Regions from separate parts of the Homo sapiens genome. Here regions 1, 2, 3, 4 and 5 are each linked to region 6. The links are contacts of gene promoters, found by promoter capture Hi-C in blood cells and fetal thymus (Javierre and others, 2016). All regions are on one chromosome and are shown on one strand. The core of a region is centred on a gene start or on the middle of the fragment in contact, and the rest is flanking DNA. Distances in the headings are between cores, read along the strand shown. Region 1 overlaps PTK2 (protein tyrosine kinase 2). Region 2 overlaps PTK2 (protein tyrosine kinase 2). Region 3 overlaps PTK2 (protein tyrosine kinase 2). Region 4 has its middle 34 kb from the start of PTK2. Region 5 overlaps PTK2 (protein tyrosine kinase 2). Region 6 holds the start of SLC45A4 (solute carrier family 45 member 4).

Region 1 (3,123 bases), core at 437-2,936, 370 kb before region 6:
AACTCCAAATCACCAAGGAATCATCTGAAAGATGAGTGGGGAAAAATGAACAGAAGAACAGAGTAGAGCACGGGGCCTGGCCCACGGAAGGCACTCAACTGTGTCGAATGAAAGAATAAATCCATTTACTTTTCTTGATTCACATTCACTCATCACTAGCTCCAGCTACACTTACTGTTCGTATTGACATATCCTAACATATCCCTGATAGGATGGGCAAGTAATAAATACAGACTTTTGCTTGAAGAACTTGGGATTAACAGTTATGTTCATGATGAAAAACACAACATCCTGTACATCAGGAAAGAAACACTACTTTGCATTTGGGAGGCCGAGGCGGGTGGATCACCTGAAGCCAGGAGTTCGAGACCAGCCTGGCCAAAATAGTGAAACAAAAAAATTGGCCAGGTGTGGATGGCGCCACTTGAGAGACTCAGGCAGGCCTGAACCCGGGAAACGGAGCTTGCAGTGAGATGAGATAGTGCCACTGCACTCCAGTCTGGGTGACAAAGCGAGACTCTGTCTCAAAAAAAAAAGACTAAAGAGTCATGACTATATATTACAAGTGATTCCAGACAGGATCCTGTATCAAGGGTAAGAACTGCTATAAGGGACATCACTTGCCAAAATATGACCATGGTCTACAGCCATGCCATCCAATCTCAAAAGCTAAGCAGCGTGGGGCCTGGTTAGTAGTATTGGGATTGGGAGGCTGCCTGAAAATACTGGGTGCTGTAGGCTTAAAATAAAATTGTTTTTTTAATATGAACATGGCCGGGCACAGTGGCTCACGCCTGTAATCCCAGCACTTTGGGAGGCTGAGGCAGGCAGATCACCTGAGATCAGGAGTTCAAGACCAGCCTGGACAACATGGTAAAACCCTGTCTCTACTAAAAATACAAAAATTAGCCGGGCATGGTGGTGAGTACCTGCGCTACTTGGGAGGCTGAGGCAGGAGAATTGCTTGAACCCAGGAGGCAGTGGTTGCAGTGAGCTGAGACCACACCATTGCATTCCAGCCTGGGTGACAAGAGCGAAACTCCATCTCAAAAAAAATTTTTTTAATTAAAAAAAAATAAATTCAACATGTGTAATACAACAATCACACACATAAATTCAACTGAAATGAACACAATATGAACAGCTATCCCAAGTTCATGCAATGACAAGTGAACCATGAATGACTGCCACCTGGGCTACACCAACCGGAACTGTCACCAATTCTAAAAAGCGTACCAGCACACTTTTAAGCCTTCAAAACCAGGGTTAAGTTAATGAAGACATTCCCAGAGAAAAATACAGGGATGGAGTGAGACAATAAAATATAAAAAGCAGAACAATCAGCAATCTCCCTCCTGTTCCCAAACACCAAATGTCAAAGAGGCTACCATTAGATATTTACTGTGTGATCAACACACAAATAGTTCTCTGCAGAGGCTGTAATAAACAGGTCTCATCTGCTGGAGACAGTGTCTCAAGACACAGAAGAGCATATGCATTAAATAAACAAAAAGCAACTTAGGAAGCCCTACTGTAATGCACCTTATTCTATCACTGATTCTATTAGTGCCACACATTATAGTATATCCTGAAGATCGTAAAATGATGAGCTCATCATTTAAAATAAACTGATTTTTAAACGAAAATTAGAACATACAACTTTCTACTTTGATTCCACTCCTACTCACTGTTGTGGCTTTTTAACCAAGAGTTTATTGGGAAAAAAAATGCTAAATGGCTGCTCCACAGGACATCAACAAGTACCACAAAGTAGTAATGAGCAACTCTATTTTTTTTTTGGAGACAGGGTCTCACTTTTGTCACCTACGCTGGGATGCAGTGGCATGATCTCAGCTCAATGCAGCCTCGACCCCTCAGGCTCAGGCGATCCTCCCACCTCAGTCTCCCAAGTACCTGGGACTACAGGCACGCACCACCACGCCCAGCTAACTTTTTGTTTGTTTGTTTGTTTGTTTGTTTTATTGAGAGAGGGACTTGCTCTGTCGTCCAGGCTGCAGTGCAGTGGGGTGAACATAGCTCACTGCAGCTTGACCACCCCCAGGTTCAAGCAATTCTCCCGCCTCAGCCTCCCGAGTAGCTGGGACCACAGGCATGTGCCACCACACCTGGCTAATTTTAAAATTTTTTGTAGAGATGAGGTGTTGCCATGTTGTTCAAACTCCTGGGCTCAAGCGATCCTCCCACCTCAGCCTCCCAAAGGGTTGGGATTACAGGCATGAACCTCTGCACCTAGACTTACTATGTACATTCTTAATTCTAGCAGTTTAAAACATAAATGTACCCTACCATTATAGCTCATTAACTATTAACTAAAAGATGGAGCTGAAGACTGCATAGTTTCATCAATATAAGAAATAGCATTTTTATTTATAACGCTGATAAAACTATTTTTCTCCAGAGCTACAAGAACTTGAGCAACAAATACTAAAATAACTTTTAAACATCTTTTATTTCTGCTAATTATATGACCTTTATAATATACAATCTCATTATACAAAGACAAATATAAAGCCTTTAGGCCACAAATAAATCAGATTACATAAATGAATCAAGGACTTCAAGACTGTTTTCAAAAGCAGTGTCTACACTGAAATCTACTTCACTTCAACTTTGGTGGTACCTAATCCAGACAAATAAATGTTGATCCAGCTGGAAAGAAAATTTGAGCTCTAATGAGTGCGTGCGTGTGTGTGTGTGTGTGTGCGCGCATATATGTGTGCAAGAGTATATGGATAATATCTGTTTGCATATAAGTCACTTTTTCTTCTCTTTAAAGTTTTATTTCTTGAGGCATAACGTGCACAATAAAAACATCAGGTGGATGGTGATAAGGACTGGATCTGTTTCCCAGCCAAATCTCATGTTGAAATGTAGTCCCCAGTGTTGGAAGTGCAGCCTGGTAGGAGGTGTTTGGATCACGGGGGCGTATTCCTCATGAATGGCTTAGTGCCATTCCCTTGGTGACAAGCGAGTTCATGTGAGATCTGGTTGTTTAAAAGTGTATGGCACCTCCCACTCTCTCTCTTGTTCTCTCTTGCCATGTGACGCATCTGCTCCCACTTCACCTTCCATCATGAGTAAAAGCTCTCCGACGCCTCCCTG
Region 2 (2,970 bases), core at 417-2,916, 470 kb before region 6:
TGGGCGTGGTGGTGCACACCTGTAATCCCTGATACTTGGGTGGCTGAGGTAGGAGAATCACTTGCACCTGGGAGGTGGAGGTTACACTGGGCTGAGATCATGCCACTGCACTCTAGCCTGGGCAACAGAGAGAGACTCTGTCTCAAACAAACAAACAAAAACAAAAAAAGTCATTTAGAAATACAGTAAAGCAGCTGGGCACGGTGGCTTACACCTGTAATCCTAGCACTTTAGAAGGCCGATGCGGGCTGATCACTTGAGGTCAGGAGTTCAAAATCAGCCTGGCCAACATGGTAAAACCCCATCTCTACTAAAAATACAAAAAAAATTAGCCGGGCACAGTGGTGGGCACCTGCAATCCCAGCTACTTAGGAGGCTGAGGCAGGAGAATTGCTTGAATCCAGGAGGAGGAGGTTGCTGCAAGCCGAGGTCACGCCACTGCACTCCAGCCTGGGCAACAGAGCAAGACTCCATCTCAAAAAAAAAAGTACAGTAAAGCTGAAAGGGCATTGTGCATTAGGCTGTAAACAACTGAGTTTGACTTTAAAATTCCTGCCGGAATCTAATAAATTATGTGGAACATATCATGAGTTTTCTTATTAGAAAGGAAAAAGAGAACCATGAAATGAACTAATAAGAAACAAGCAGTATTCTGTATTCATGTATAATTCCTTTCTGTACCGAAGAAATATAAATTTCTAAATGGCTCCAAGTTACTAGCCAAAACCAATAGGAAAAAGAAATGCCAACACACTCCTTGAGAGAGCTGCTGGGGTTCCCAGTTGCTCCTGTGGTAGAACAGCCATGGTGTGTGCATGCGAGTCCCTGCACATCCTCTCAGCCAGGCCACTCCTAAAGCACTGGCATCAGCCTTTACAATGGCCAAATGCAATATTGTTAAGTATCTTTATTATATAAAATGTAACCAGGTTAATAGTTACATTTTCTCTGTTAAGCTATTATCGGGCCAGATATGGTGACTCATACCTATAATCTCAGCACATTGGGAGGCCAAAGTGGGAAGATTGCTTGACCAGCATCTGTTAAGCTACCTTTCAAGAACAAGGGTGAAATTTTTTAAAAAGAGACAGATTTAAAAACAGAATTTTATTATCAAAAACTACATATTAAAAACTTCTAGGCCGGGCGCGGTGGCTCACGCTTGTAAGCCCAGCACTTTGGGAGGCCGAGGCGGGCGGATCACAAGGTCAGGAGATCGAGACCATCCTGGCTAACATGGTGAAATCCCGTCTCTACTAAAAATACAAAAAATTAGCTGGGCATGGTGGCGGGCACCTGTAGTCCCAGCTACTAAGGAGGCTGAGGCAGGAGAATGGTGTGAACCCAGGAGGCGGAGCTTGCAGTGAGCCGAGATCGCGCCACTGCACTCCAGCCTGGGCACAGAGTGAGACTCCGTCTCAAAAAAAAAAACAAAAAAAAAACTTATAAGTAAAAGTAAAAGGGAAACTAATGTTGGAAACAGATTGAGCTACAATGAAGAATGTTTAGGCAACAGGGTGATAAACATGCCGGTTTCTAGGACGCCCCCAGCACACACACACTAACACAAAGCACGACAGGCAGAAGGGAAACTGTTTTTGGGTTTCTGGACCGACGGTACCTGCAAGGTGGGGATGATGAACCCGGCGCTTGGGCACTGAGGTTGGACCTGACGAAGGCGGAAGTGGCATCATTTCCTGGCTCTTGCCAGAAGCCGCAGCAGTGTAAACAAAGCCCCCTGGAACTCAGCTTGCCCAGTCTAGGGCCACCAGCCTCTAATCCAAGCCACTTTGGTGGCCTGAGTGAGAGTCAGAGTAACAGCAGATTGAGACACCCCAGTACCTCAAGGTTATTGTCAAATACAGAACAGAAAACAGCTATGCATAAAAACTTGAAGAAATAAACGGCACAAACACCACAGATGGGCATACCAGAGGTTACCAAGCATGAAGAAGATTACATCACATGAAATGGAATGTCTAGAAATGAAAAAATATAAGTGGTAGAATGAAAAAAACAATGAACAACGTATGGCATAAAGATACTACTTAAGAGAATTAAAGAATTATAAGACAAATCCAAAGAAATATCTCCCCCAAAAAAGAGAGAATCCAGAGAGACAGAGAGATAGAAAACACGAAAAATGTAAGAGACAGCAAAGATCAGAAATATATCTGTTGATTATTAAAGAGATAGTGGCATATATTTTCCAGATGAAAAACATGAATCTACAGAATTGAGAAGTATGTCTTATTCCAACTGGATTTATAAAAAGAAATCGAAGCACAAGACATGAATAAAACTAGAAAAGATGAAAAGTAGGAAAAGGACCTTAAAAGAAAGAGCAACCATAAAGAAATGTCAACAGACATTTCTTGTCATAACAGAGTATCTTTACAGTGTTGAGAAAAAAACAATGAGCAGAACAATATATTTGGAATAAAAGGAAAAGCATACCAGAAGGGTGGTCTGAGATACAAAAATGGTTATTTTAAGCAAGGTCTTCCTCTGTTGCCCAGGCTGGAGTGCAGTGGCATGATCATAGCTCACTGCAGCCACAACAAGCTGGGCTCAAGCAATCCTCCAGCCTCAGCCTCCCGACTAGGTGAGACCACAGCTGCGTGCCACCGCGCCTGGCTAATTTTTATAATTATTTGTAGAGATGAGGTCTCGCTATGCTATCCGTGCTGGTCAAGCCATCTTCCTACCCTGGCCTCCCAGTGTGCTGGGATTATAGGTTATGAGCCACTGCACCTGGCCCAATATAGGATGTTTAAGAAATAAAATCATATACATGTAGGGAAAGCCAAAAATAATAACTGTATAAAATAATAATAATGTCTAATATTTGGAGTTTCAATTTTGAAAAGATATAACTAAAATAACAGGAAAAAATGATGTGTAAGTTGGAAGAAGATGGGGAGAGTTAAGGTGTTTAAAGGTCCTTGTATTGTTTAAGAGAGGGTTAGA
Region 3 (3,132 bases), core at 268-2,767, 510 kb before region 6:
AAATAAGTCCTTTATCCTCCTAATACCATAGAAGACAGTTACTGTTCTTCGTGTTTGACCAGATGACAGAACTGAGGCTCAGAAAAGTAATTTATAGATGGTGTCACAGAGGACTCATGATTTGAACTTAAGTCCCATAATTCCCAAACTCAGTCTTTCCCTGCTTCACACTATGTATGCTATTATCCTGCTGGGAATATTTTCATTTGATTCTTTCAGAAATCCAAATCCTCAAAAGCATTCCTCATTATATGCTTGCAAAAACTCCACACCGCTTTTATAGTGACGTTTCTAGGATATTTATTCATTCTAATCTTTGATTTTTTAACATCATGACTTAGACTGTACTTTCTTCTTTGAATGCTCTAAGCTTTTGAGATATATAAGAAAAAGTAGAAAGGACACTTTATTTATAGTGAGTTATAACGGATTCCTTTTTTTAAACCCAGAATTTTATTTAAACCCAAAATTTTAAAAATACTAATGTATTTAAAAATAGTAATGGCAATTTAGAAAATCCTCTAAGTAGGTAGCTCAAAACACAGACAATGTTTTTTTTAGGCTCTATTCAAACCCAGCTCTTGGCTTGTGGAAGGTGTGAAACGGATCACCATCCCTAGAAAAATAAGTCCTCAGATTATACTGAGCTGAATTATTCATTTGGTCTTCATTTTTACAGTTACCTAAAAGAGGATAACAGGCTGTTAGGGGCAAGCACAGCTAAATATTTGGTAGAAGCGCAATTGGGAATGCTCAGAAACAGCACCTCACCTTTCTGAGGTCTGATGATAAATGACTGCGAGGTTCCATTCACCAGCCGGCAGTACCCATCTATTAGGTCAGCCATATTCTCCGCAATGGTTAGGGATGGTGCCGTCACTGTCAGAGGCTAACGGAGAAAAGATCAAGAAAACAGACTTCATTGTTCTTCCCAGTAAGCAAAGGACAGCTGTGCTATGACATCAGACATCTCTATACACTTGAAAACAGAGAAGAGTGGGAATGAAACAAGATTTGTCATGAGATTTGAGAAAGGAAATCTGATATTTAAGGACATTATTCCTAGAATATGTGACAAATGCAAACCCAGATGAAAACAGAAAAATCACTTAAACTGGGGCTCACTTTCTAGAATCAAAAGAGATGAAAAAAGTATTTTCCTTCAGAGTGTCTGGCCCCTCTGGCATACTCCAGTTAAGGGAAGAATTTAGACAATCAGTAAGTTAAAGTATGACTTCTATCAGAAACTAATGTGGAGTAAATTTTTTATCAACCATCCATCATAATTTCTAATGTAAAAGAAAATTAATAAAATTTCATTATTTTTAGCACATATAGCATGTTCGCCCAAGGGCTTAGAAATCATTCTCTTTCCAATATAAAATTTGATATTGTTTGGTAATATTTGCTTAATCTCCAGAATCAACAAGAGTTCCTAGAGCCCTCAGATGTCACCAAACTCACAGAATCACAGGGCAGAAGAGTGACGAGGCATCAGCCTAAGTGAGGAGTGCTGCAAATAAAGCTACCCAGAGAACTGGCCGTTAACAGACCAAAGAATCCTGGTGTGCTGATGGAAACAGATGAGCTTCAAAAAACATGCTTTACACACCAGCACAACCGTGTGTGCCACCAGACTGTCCAGATCCTTTCATACACGAGTGTATTTTGTCCATCTTGCAGAAAGGACCACATTAGGTAGTATTTGCCAAATGGCTCTTTCTCATGCCACTTGTTTTAAATCACTGTTGCCTGTTGATTAAGAACACAGGCTTTGGATCCAGACTGTTTGGGTATGAACCCCATCTCTTGTCAATTACTTGATGTGGCCAACCTCTCATGCCTCAGTTTCCTCAGCTACAGAATGGGGTTAACCAAAGTATATCAAAGTATCTACTTCCTTGGTTGTGACAATGACACAGCTTCTCTTGGCTTCTGCGTAAAGAACCACAGGTAGCATGTGCCCAGTATCAGGTACTGCTGCTGTTATAATTATTATAATCATATAATAATAACTATTATAATCACATAATAATTTCTACCCAGAGAATATCATGGACAACACAGTGTGGAAATTAACTCAGTTTACAGTATATATAGTCAATGCACCACATAACAACATTTTGGTCAATGATGGTCCGCATATACAATGGTGGTTCCATAAGATTTATATAATAGAGCTAAGAATTCCTATTGCTAGGTATGCCGTAGCCATCCTGAAGTTGTAATGCTCATGTTTATGGTGAAGCTGGTGTAAAAAAAATCTACTGTGCTGCCAGTCTTATAAAAGTATAGCACATACGATTATGTACAGCACATAATACTGGATAATGACTATGTTACTGGTTTATGTATTTACTATTTTTTTTTTAATTAGAATGTACTTCTACTTATTTAAAAAAAAAAAGTTAAATGTAAAACAGCCTCAGGCAGGGCTTCTAGAAAGTATTCCAGAAAGTGGCACTGTTCTCATAGGAGATGACAGTTTCATGTGTGTTACGGCCCCTGAAGACCTCCCAGTGGGACAAGATGTGGAGGTAGAAGATGGTGATATGGATACTCTTGACCCTGTGTAGGCCTAGGCTAGCGTGTATGTTTGTGTCTTACTTTTTAACAAAAAAGCTGAAAAAGTAAAAAACACAGAAAATCATTTTAAAACTAGAAAAAAGCTTACAGAATAAGTATGTAAAAAAAGAAAATTTTTTGTACAGCTGTACAATATATTTAAAATTAATTGTTATTACAAGAGTCAAAAAAGCCGAAAAAAATCAGTTTATAAAATATAAAAGTTACTGTAAGCTAATGTTTACTACTGAAAAAGGTTTTAAAAATAAATTTAAGTATATGGTGTGTACAGTGTTTATAGTCTACAGCAGTGCACAGTAATGTCGTAGATCTTCACATTCATCCTTCACTCACTGACTCACCCACAGCAGCTTCCAATCCTGCAAGCTCCACTCATGGTAAGGGCTCTATGCAGGTGTAACATTTTTTATCTTCTATACTGTATTTTTACTGTGCCTTTTCTATGTTTACATATATTTAGAGATACAAATACCATTGTGTTACAATTGCCTAAAGTATTCAGTATAGTAGCATGCTACACAGGTTTGTAGCTTAGGGCAACAGGCT
Region 4 (3,244 bases), core at 722-3,221, 270 kb before region 6:
GACTATAGGCGTGCACTATCATGCCCGGCTAATTTTTAATTTTTTGTAGAGACAGGGTTTTGGCATGTTGCCTGGCCTCAAACTCCTGAGCTCAAGCCATCCTCCTGCTTTTGTATCCCAAACTTGTGGGATTATAGGCATGATCCACTACATCCGGCCAAAGATTTGTGAATAGTTCCATCAAAGGCCCCAATAAATTTAACCCTCTGGGTCTTGAGTTTCCATGGGTCTCCTTTTGTTCTTATAATAACAGTGATAACATCTGGTAGGAACTGTGCCAAATCCTTCATATGTATTTTCTCACTTACTCTTTGTAACAAACTTAGGAGGAGGTACGGCGATTACTGTTGGCCCTCCATATCTGCGGGGATTTGTGGGTTGGGTTCTACCAACTGTGGATTGAAAATATTTGGGGGAAAAAAATCCACAATGAAAAATAACAATAAAACAATAAAAATAATACACAATTTCAAAATACAGTATAACAACTATTTCCATAGCATTTTCATTATATTAGGTATTATAAGTAATCTAGAGATGATTTGAAGTGTACGGGAGAATGTGCATAGGTTGTATGCAAGTAATACTCCAATTTATGTAAGCAACTTGAACATCCTTGGATTTTAGTATCTGTGGGGGTCCTGGAATCAATCCCCCCACAGATATCAAAGGATAACTATACCTTTGTTTTAAAGAAAGTTGAGAAAACACGCACCAGCTTGGAGCTTGCTGGAGGCCGGGCAGAGGCAGACTGGCTGGGAAGGATTGTTTTCTTTTTTTTTTTGAGATGGAGTCTTGCTCTGTCACCCAGGCTGGAGTGCAGTGCCATCTTGGCTCACTGCAAGCTCCGCCTCCCGGATTCACGCTATTCTCCTGCCTCAGCCTCCAGAGTAGCTGGGACTACAGGCGCCCGCCACGACGCCCGGCTAATTTTTTTGTATTTTTAGTAGAGATGGGGTTTCACCATGTTAGCCAGGATGGTCTCGATCTCCTGACCTCGTGATCCACCCGCCTCGGCCTCCAAAAGTGCTGGGATTACAGGCGTGAGCCACCACGCCCAGACCAAGGATTGTTTTCTTTTACTTGCTGCCTAAATCCTTGGAAGCTTTGGGTGACCCTGGGAACAAGTGAAAGTAAGGCTTAGGTGGAGGCGGAGGCTGGGGGAGTTGTGGGAAGGCCACCCTCAAGGGCAGGTTGAGGGACTTCGGGGAGGGCCCTTCTTGAAGAGGCCAGGGTGGAAGACAGGAAGAGCTGTTTTGGAAAGCGAGGCTGGTGGATTTGGCTGAGGGTGTGCGGAGCTTGATGGGACAGAGAGGACTGAGCTGGTGGATACACACGGGAGCCAGGTGCTCAGGAGAGGCCAGGCTGGATGGGCACACCCGGGAGCCATCAGTCAGAGACGATGACAGCATTTTTGGCTCGAGTCTACAGGTACTTCTCTGGGGCCTGCGCTGCCCCCTCAGGCCACTTCTGCCCCTGCCCTGTGTCCCCAAGACATGCTCATCTCTGTGCCTGGCAGGGCTGGGCTCCTTCCTGCCTCCCTGCTTGACCAGGAGCCCCTGTAAGCCACCGACCATGCCCAGCTCATCTTAGAGGCCTCAGCTCCTGACCAGGGCCATCCACGTCAGCATGTGTGGATCCCAACTTCCTCCTAAACCCAGGAACTCCTCACCTTTCTGCTCACTCCACGGCATCACAGCAGTAGCAAGTACTCGCAATTCTTCCTCCCTGTCGTGAGTTGAATTGTGTCTTCCCAAAAGATCTGTTGAAGCTCCAGCTCCCAGTAACCGTGAATAGGACCTTATTTGGAAATAGGGTCTTTGTAGATGCAATCGCGTTAGGCTCAATTGGGGGGCCTAAACTTATCTGAGTGTCTTTATAAGAAGAGGTACGAGAGACCCACAGGAACACCACACTGGAGGCAGAGATTGGAGTGGGGCAGCTGAAAGCCAAGGAACGCTGAAGATTGAAACCAGAAGCTGGAAGAGGCAGGAAGGTTCTGCCCTTAGAGCCTGGCCCTGCAACACCTTGATTTCAGGCTTCAGTCTCCAGAACTCTAAAACAATACATTTCTGCTGTTTTCAGCCCGCATGTGTATGGTGCTTTGTTACGGCAGCCACAGGAAACCAGCACACTCCGTGAGGCCCTCTTTCCCATCTCCCCTCCTGCCCTCGCTCCCCACTGCCTGGCTCTGGCCTTCCCTGCTCTTCCCTTTCCATCCAGCAGCCCTGGTGCCACAGGAGGGCTGAGTCACAGGCTGAGTCACAGTGAGTCCCCAAGTGCCCAGTGCTGTCCCACACCTTTGCCCCTGCTGTTCCCCTGCCTGAGCTGCCCTCCCTCTTGTCTGATGGTGACTTCTACGCATCCTTCAAAACTCAGGTCATCTCCGTGGTAGGGCGGTTCTGACCTCCAGATTGAGGCAATCATTCCCTCCACTGTTCTTCCCTTCAGCTCACCTCTTGCCCCCACTCCTCATGGCAGAGCCAGTTTAATTGCTTCTTATTTATGCCCCCTTTCCCCCGCCTCGAAGCATGAGTCTCTTGAGAGCAGGGAGTATGTCCCGTGGCAGAGACTCAATCATGGAGATTGGTTGGCTGTGTAGAGGGCTGGATGAACGACTGCATAAAAAAACTGGTTGGCTGGATGGTCAGACAACAGAAAACCTGAGAAAACATCAACACAATTGGCTCTGCATGCGCGATGTGCTCTTGTGGCCCTGGTGTTAGCAGGGAGGGATCCAGGGTTTGTGGGATCCGATGCTGATACAACTGAGGGGCATCCCCTTCCAGAAAAAACTACAAAAGCAGGTACAGGGCTTTAGAGGGGGCGCAGAAACGTAAGCTTTATCAGCATCCCGGCAAATTCACCTTTGCTGTTCGCTTCGCTGGGCACACCCCCATGTCCCGGCCTTGAGCTCCTGCCGCGCTCACCACTTCCTCCTTGCCTGACCGCGGACCGCAGGCAGCACTTTCGCTGAGATTGCTTCCCCTTGAGGTCTGCAGGTCTCTGGGCCCGGGAGAGCCTCCGCTGTCTCAGGAGCACAGGCTGAAGCTTCATCAGCCTCCAGCCCAGCCAGGGTGAGCGCCACCTTTAGAATATGTTTGCCTTGCCTCCTCCCACATGCTGCCCCCGTGGCTGGCCAAGCTCCATGGGATGGGGGTGCCAAGGAGACCTACGTTTCTGTCACCTGCTTGCAGGCTTGCAGGATCGTGGAAGGGCTATTGTGGTATATTTGTTTTCAAAG
Region 5 (2,900 bases), core at 325-2,824, 490 kb before region 6:
ATTGTGAGAGGAGCAGTTTGGTGGGTAAAGGTCAGAAAGAATGCCAGAAGAATACCAGAAATCCAAGTGGAGCTGTCAAGCAGGCCAGTAAGGGCCCAGTGGAGTTCAAGGGGAGGTCCTGGCTGGCCCAGCAGACAGGGAAGATGGATTAGGTGACCTGCTAATCTCAGTGGGTCAGGGACATGGGGAGCAGCCAGGGGCCCAGGTTGAGGTGTGGCTGCTAAGTCAGGTACACCGTAAACTAGGAGGGCATGGCATACTTTGGTGGGGTCATGGAGGTAATAGCCTGTCTGTAGTGGCTTGAAGGTCCTAGTAGGATCCAAGGATTACTGGATCTGGGATACTACAGAAAGTGAGCTGGAAAGACAGGAGCTATGGTCAGAGAGAAGGATACACACAATTAGGGAGGGGGTTCGATTACTGGAAATGAATAAGACCAGAGTGAGAGGTTGAGGTAAGGCAGAGGACAAGATTCCTGAAGACAGGAATTCAATGAGCCAAGATAGTGGAACATGGGAGGATTACCTAAGGCATGTGACTTTTATTTTAAAAAGCTCGCTCTGCTCTTGCACACAGAGGGTTGGGGGAGTGTGTAGGAGTGAAAGCAGAAAGACCAGTCAGGTCACTGTAACAGATCAAGCAAGAAAACACTAGTGGCATGGACCCCAAGGTAGTGGTGAAGAAGAGAAATGGGCACTTTTGGGACATTTGGATGATCATATGCAAGACAACTGGAAAGTAAAGAATCCAGGAAAAGTAGAGTTTTAGATGGAACAAACAGGCAAACATAAGAGGCAGGCTTGGTGAAAAAAATAAAGTCATGTTAACCCTGTACATGTGTTTGACCTTGAAGTCTTCCAACATGAACCATCAAGGAGACATTTGGATCTAAGTCTGGAGCTCAGGAGAGGGCAGCACTGTTGCTAGAAATTTCAGAGCCACCAGCTGAAGTATTTAAATACATGGGACTAGATGGCACCTGCAAATAAAATGAAGACAAAAGAGAAGGCCAAAGCTAAGTAAGCTGACCAATAGTTGGTTTTAACCAGGGCTGAGGTTTTGACAGGTGAGTATGACAGAGTGGAATAAGAGAATTATAGCTGTTTTGAAAAGGATTAATTACAGCTTCACAGAACTTAAACTGAAGAGCAATAAAATGGGTTCAAGGTTAGCAAGGCTTGACTATAAAATGTATCACATGGAAAGTGAGGTGGTCAGCCTCAGATGCTCTATAAACAAAAGTCCGAAAAGCATATTCTTGGTTTGACTCCAGGCTTTCTAAACATTCTCTGCTTATGATCACCTATGTAGGACAGACTCTACAACAGAGCATGCAGATTGGACATGGAGATTTGAGTACTGCTTGTAGCCACCTACATGATGTTTTTCTCCTTATAAATTAACAATATAGTACCTTGGGACTTTGCTGAATATAAAGCAGTCTCTAAGAAGCAGGCCCGCTACACTCTGGACCTAGAACAAATCCACTAAGGAAATTCTACTCTGTGCTTGGCACTTGGCATACACTGCATAATCAGAACAGGTATCTATTCTCAATAAATTCAGAGTACAGCTGGAAAAAGAGCATTCTGATCTTCATTCATGGCTACAGGAGGAACAGTATAATTCTGTGCATATAGTGCTATTAGGCGCTGATTCACACACACACACACACACACAAACACACACACACTACCAAAAAATGATACCAGAAAAGACATCTGTAGGCCCTTCCGTGGAAATAAACAAAGTCTTCACAATGACCCTTGCAAGGGAGATACTATTTTTCATATATTACTGAGCAAACAGAGACTGAAACATTAGGTAACAACGAGGGGGTACAAGAATTGTGATTCTAATCCAGAACTACTTGATTTCTTTTTACTTGCTATGAGACCAATTCAAACACCTCCTTTTCTAAGATGCTCTGCTTGATAGAAGAAACCAGGAAGAAACAACCACCACATCCCTATGGGTCTCATACTGCTTTGAATGTATTTTTAGACATGGCACTTATATAAGATCCACGTTGGTGATAAGGGAGCATGCACTGCCTTGTTACCCCAAAGAAAAGAGTATAGCCCGCAGCTGAAACTCAATGATGTGCTTTTACAATGAATAATTACATGTCTCTGCCATAACAACTTGGATTCTGGCAAACTCTCAAACAGATAATATGGATGAATAAAATCTAGTTCTATCCTGTGATAAATTAGGTTTCACTTTCTAGTAAGTAAGTGGGAAGACAGTTCAGATTTCTTTAGTTTCAAACTTCTATCATAGAACATGCTGCCTCAATGTACAAATGCTCTGAGTGTAAGAAATGTCTCCCATCTACAAGTATTAATAGAAAATAAGTCCAGCAAAAGCCCTGGAATATAAAAAAATCTCTTTAAGTGTATGATACAATAAATTGGAATATGGTAGCAGTTGCAAGGAACAGTTGTCAACTGAACACAGGGACCAGAACACAATGACAAAACATTTCTATTAACATTAACCAAATGTTGGTATATTCATTCATGACTCTAAGAGGAATATTTCAACTCAGGTAAATACTGACATGCAGTGATCAAAAATTATGTAAAATAGGTACAGAAAAAAAGTCAATTCTCTACTTTGTACCTAATTCCCAACCAGCTGCTGGTTTATATATAAATTATTGGCAATATTATAATATACTGACACCTGCTCATTTGTTCAATGCTTTTTAAAATTAACCTAAAACATTCTATGAAGTAACGGAGATAGAAGTCGAGGAAACAGAATCTGCTCTTGAGGTTAAAATGCATATATATATATACACACCTGCCTACCTGACAGTTCCACTGCAGTTTCTCACAGACATCTAAAACCTGCCACTAAGAGCACTGAGATTTCAGCCGTGGTGGCTTATTGGC
Region 6 (2,965 bases), core at 4-2,503:
ACCCGCACTGGAGAGACACAAACACCTCAGGCTCCTTAGGAGGTCAAGCGGCCCTTCCCAGCCCTCCCTAGCCCCCGCCTTCTAGAATCATTCTGAATAGCTAACCAGGAGGCTGGGCCCCGTGTGGATCCGCCTCCGCTGGAAAAGCCGCTGCTGGAAGTGCTCCAATCCAGAGCAGGATACCTGGGGGAGGAACGGGTTAAGCGCAAAGGGGAAAGGGGCAGCGGGTGCTGAGACGCAGAAGGTGCGGGGACTTCTACAGAGCAGGGAATCTGGGCCCGGATGAACTGATGCCCTGGCCTCTTTCCTCCAGGGACAAGGTCGGTCTCAGGAAATCAAGGTATCTTCAAAGGGACACAAGGGAGCGCAGTGCCGATGAGACCGGGGCAGAGCCACAGTCTGGCGGTGCAGGCTGGGGGTCCGAGGCGGGGGACACTGGCTAGCAGTGCTGCCAGGGTCGTGTGTGCACTGGGCAGAGGGAAAGGAGGGGAAGAAGGGAAGGGGAAGAAGGGGAAGAAGGGAGTGTGTTCGGTTGGGAGGACCGGTCCAGACAGAGGGGAGAGGGGGCCACTTCGCGAGTGGTGTATCGCTGGTTGAATTCTCATAAGTTAGAGATAGCAGGCAGGGGTTAGAAGGACAAGACAGGGTCAGGACCAGGAGTTAGAGGCGCCAGGCTCCTCTCTGGGTAGAGAAACCGAGGAACTGGGGGCGGGGAGGACTGATGGGTGCGAAAGCGGGCCGGGTCCAAATGAAGGCGCGCGCCCCGGGGTGGGGGCCGGGGTGGGGGGAATGAGGGAGGCTGCAGGGCTGGGGACCAGGGCAGGTGCAATCCGGAAAGAGGAGGCGGGAAGGAATTGGGGGGCCCTGAGGAGCCAGCGCAAGCCGGGTGGGGGCACGTCCCCTCCCCCGGAGAAGGTGCGGGGCTGGGGCTGCGGCGCGGACCCGACCTGGAGGCCGAGGCTGTGCGGGAGGTGGGGGTGGGGAGGCTGCAGGTGCCCGGCGCCCAGGTGCGAGGTGCAGGGGGCGGCGGGGCAGGCGGCTGCGGGCGGCAGGCCACTCACCTGTCTCCTCCGGCCGGGGCCGCGGGGGCGGCGGGGCGGCCGGGCCGGGCCGGGCAGGGGCTACGGGGGCGCGGAGCCCCGGGCGCACCGGGGTCGGGAGGCGGCTGCGGGTCCGGGCGGGGGCTGCTCCCTCGGCCGGCCGGCCGGGCGGTCAGTCAGCGACGCGGGCGCGGAGAGAGCGCTGCGAGGCTGCGGCCGGCGCGCGGAGACAACGCCGCTTTATCGGGTCGGAAACAGCCGCTCCGCGCCGCTTCCGCTGACGCAGCGCCGGCCCCTGCGCCTCATGACTATGCAGCACCCGCCGCCGCGGGACGGGGATTCGGGGGGCGGGGTCTGCGCCGCGCGCGCTCATTGGCCTCCGCTGCCGCCCACCCCGCCCCCGAACGGCCGCCCCGCCCCCGCCGCGCCCCTGCCCCGCCCCCGCGCGCACCGTGGCTCCCGCCCCCGTCTCGCCATGGCCCCGCCCCCAGCCATAATCCAGCCCCGCCCCCGCCCTCCTCCCGCTACGCCCCCGGCCCCGGCCCCGGCCCCGGCCCCTCCGCACCGAGCGTCCGCCCTCTCTCCCCTAAAGCGCTGGCCCGCAATCCACCCCATCCCTCTCTGCAGCCGCAGGAGGTGGCCCCCGCCTGTCCCCACCTTCTCTCCCCGCTCCTCTCGCCACTCTGTCGCAGAGGGGTCCGGCTAGCCACGAGGCCCCGGCCCCCGGCAGCCCAGCCCCTTGGCAAGCACCCTCCCGCCCCCTCCGCCCCTGCCCGTGGCGCGGCGACATGGGCCCCATCCAGGTGCTGCAGCCCCTCCTCCGCTGCAGGAGAAAACTCTCCTGTTTTCCCCTCCCTGCCACCCTCCGAAGACCTCCTACCTGGTCCCGGACCACGCCCCCGTCCCCAACTCCCCCAACGCCCCGCGCTCTGCGGGTCCCCTCTCCAACCTGGAGAGCGGGGCAGGACGAAGACCCGACCCGGAGCTTCCTGGAGGCTGGGCCTCCCTCTCAGGCTTGGCCCTGGCCAGGGACACTGATCCGTCTCTCCCCACGTGTAGAAGGGCCACAATCCCTAGGGCAGGACTGCTGGGAAACCCCATCAAGACAAGGTCTGGGGAGGCGGCTTTAACAGACAGATGTGATGGGCTGAGGCCAACCCTGTTAACGTCGCAGCCCTGCACCCTTGCCAGGGTTTAAGTTGCTTTGGAGGAATTACTTCATTTCTCAGAACCTTGGCGTCCTCATCTGTAAAATAGAAATCGTAAGATCCATCTCACCTGTTGCTAAAGGAATTTAGAAGTGAAGTGCAGAGCAGAGCCTCCAAGAGCATCGGAAATGGGAAAATCTGACCATATCAAGTGTTGACAAGGAAATGGAGCAACTGGAACTGCCAGACACTGTTGGTGGACATGCAAAGTGGTACAACTTTCAAAATCTTTTTGAAAGGCCTTGATTACCCAGCAATTCTGCTCCTAGATACACACCTAACATTGTGTTTCTGTTGATAGCAGCAGTGTTTATAATTGCCCCAAACTGGAAACTACTGAAATGCTCATCAGCCGTTAAATGGATACATAAATTGTGATATATTCACACAGTGGAATGACAGCAATGACAGTGAATAATCAACTACACACAACAACATGGATGACTCTCACAAATGATGTTGAGGAAAAGAAGCCAGAGGATAAAAAGCCATATTTGTTTCCATGTGGATAAAGTGGTAGAAGGTGTATATGGGGGTAGCAGTCAGGATAGTGGTTACCCTTGGAGGGAGGGGTGCCAGAGCCAGGAAGCAGGGCACAGAGGACGTGTCTGGGGGCTGGCTGTGTTCTGTGTCTTGGTCTGAGTGCTGGTTACAGTGTGCTCAGTTTATGATGACTTTTCCAGCTGTGCAGTCAAGATGCATGTGCCTGTGGGGCAC

The links. Contacts are between HindIII fragments. The CHiCAGO score rates a contact against its expected background, and 5 or more counts as called.
Region 1: a contact is called between a fragment that was not itself captured here and the fragment with the promoter of SLC45A4 in region 6, in 3 of 17 cell types (monocytes, total B cells and naive B cells). The highest score is 9.4, in monocytes.
Region 2: a fragment that was not itself captured here is called in contact with the fragment with the promoter of SLC45A4 in region 6 in 3 of 17 cell types (naive B cells, total B cells and total CD8 T cells); the score reaches 7.0 in naive B cells.
Region 3: a contact is called between a fragment that was not itself captured here and the fragment with the promoter of SLC45A4 in region 6, in 1 of 17 cell types (total B cells). The highest score is 5.1, in total B cells.
Region 4: a contact is called between a fragment that was not itself captured here and the fragment with the promoter of SLC45A4 in region 6, in 2 of 17 cell types (neutrophils and monocytes). The highest score is 8.4, in neutrophils.
Region 5: a contact is called between a fragment that was not itself captured here and the fragment with the promoter of SLC45A4 in region 6, in 4 of 17 cell types (naive B cells, total B cells, total CD8 T cells and 1 more). The highest score is 9.9, in naive B cells.

Annotation. Positions count from the first base shown.
Region 1 is chr8:140,939,923-140,943,045 of GRCh38, forward strand. The region is part of intron 1 of PTK2 (protein tyrosine kinase 2); the gene reads right to left. It also overlaps the pseudogene RNA5SP278. Among named protein-coding and RNA genes, the nearest start is that of PTK2, 60 kb to the right of the region's middle. The HindIII fragment of the contact is 5,639 bases long and covers 1-3,123 here.
Region 2 is chr8:140,837,585-140,840,554 of GRCh38, forward strand. The region is part of intron 7 of PTK2 (protein tyrosine kinase 2); the gene reads right to left. Among named protein-coding and RNA genes, the nearest start is that of MIR151A, 110 kb to the left of the region's middle. The HindIII fragment of the contact is 3,778 bases long and covers 1-2,970 here.
Region 3 is chr8:140,799,688-140,802,819 of GRCh38, forward strand. It overlaps PTK2 (protein tyrosine kinase 2), which reads right to left. Exons shown (of 36, transcript NM_001352702.2): 12 at 772-889. Among named protein-coding and RNA genes, the nearest start is that of MIR151A, 69 kb to the left of the region's middle. The HindIII fragment of the contact is 2,299 bases long and covers 369-2,667 here.
Region 4 is chr8:141,033,285-141,036,528 of GRCh38, forward strand. No RefSeq gene overlaps it. Among named protein-coding and RNA genes, the nearest start is that of PTK2, 34 kb to the left of the region's middle. The HindIII fragment of the contact is 1,736 bases long and covers 1,104-2,839 here.
Region 5 is chr8:140,820,693-140,823,592 of GRCh38, forward strand. All of the region lies in intron 8 of PTK2 (protein tyrosine kinase 2), which reads right to left. Among named protein-coding and RNA genes, the nearest start is that of MIR151A, 89 kb to the left of the region's middle. The HindIII fragment of the contact is 6,171 bases long and covers 1-2,900 here.
Region 6 is chr8:141,307,035-141,309,999 of GRCh38, forward strand. SLC45A4 (solute carrier family 45 member 4) reads right to left here and starts at 1,254. Exons shown (of 9, transcript NM_001286646.2): 1 at 1,062-1,254. RefSeq lists silencers at 1,130-1,229, 1,250-1,489. The HindIII fragment of the contact is 5,295 bases long and covers 1-2,965 here.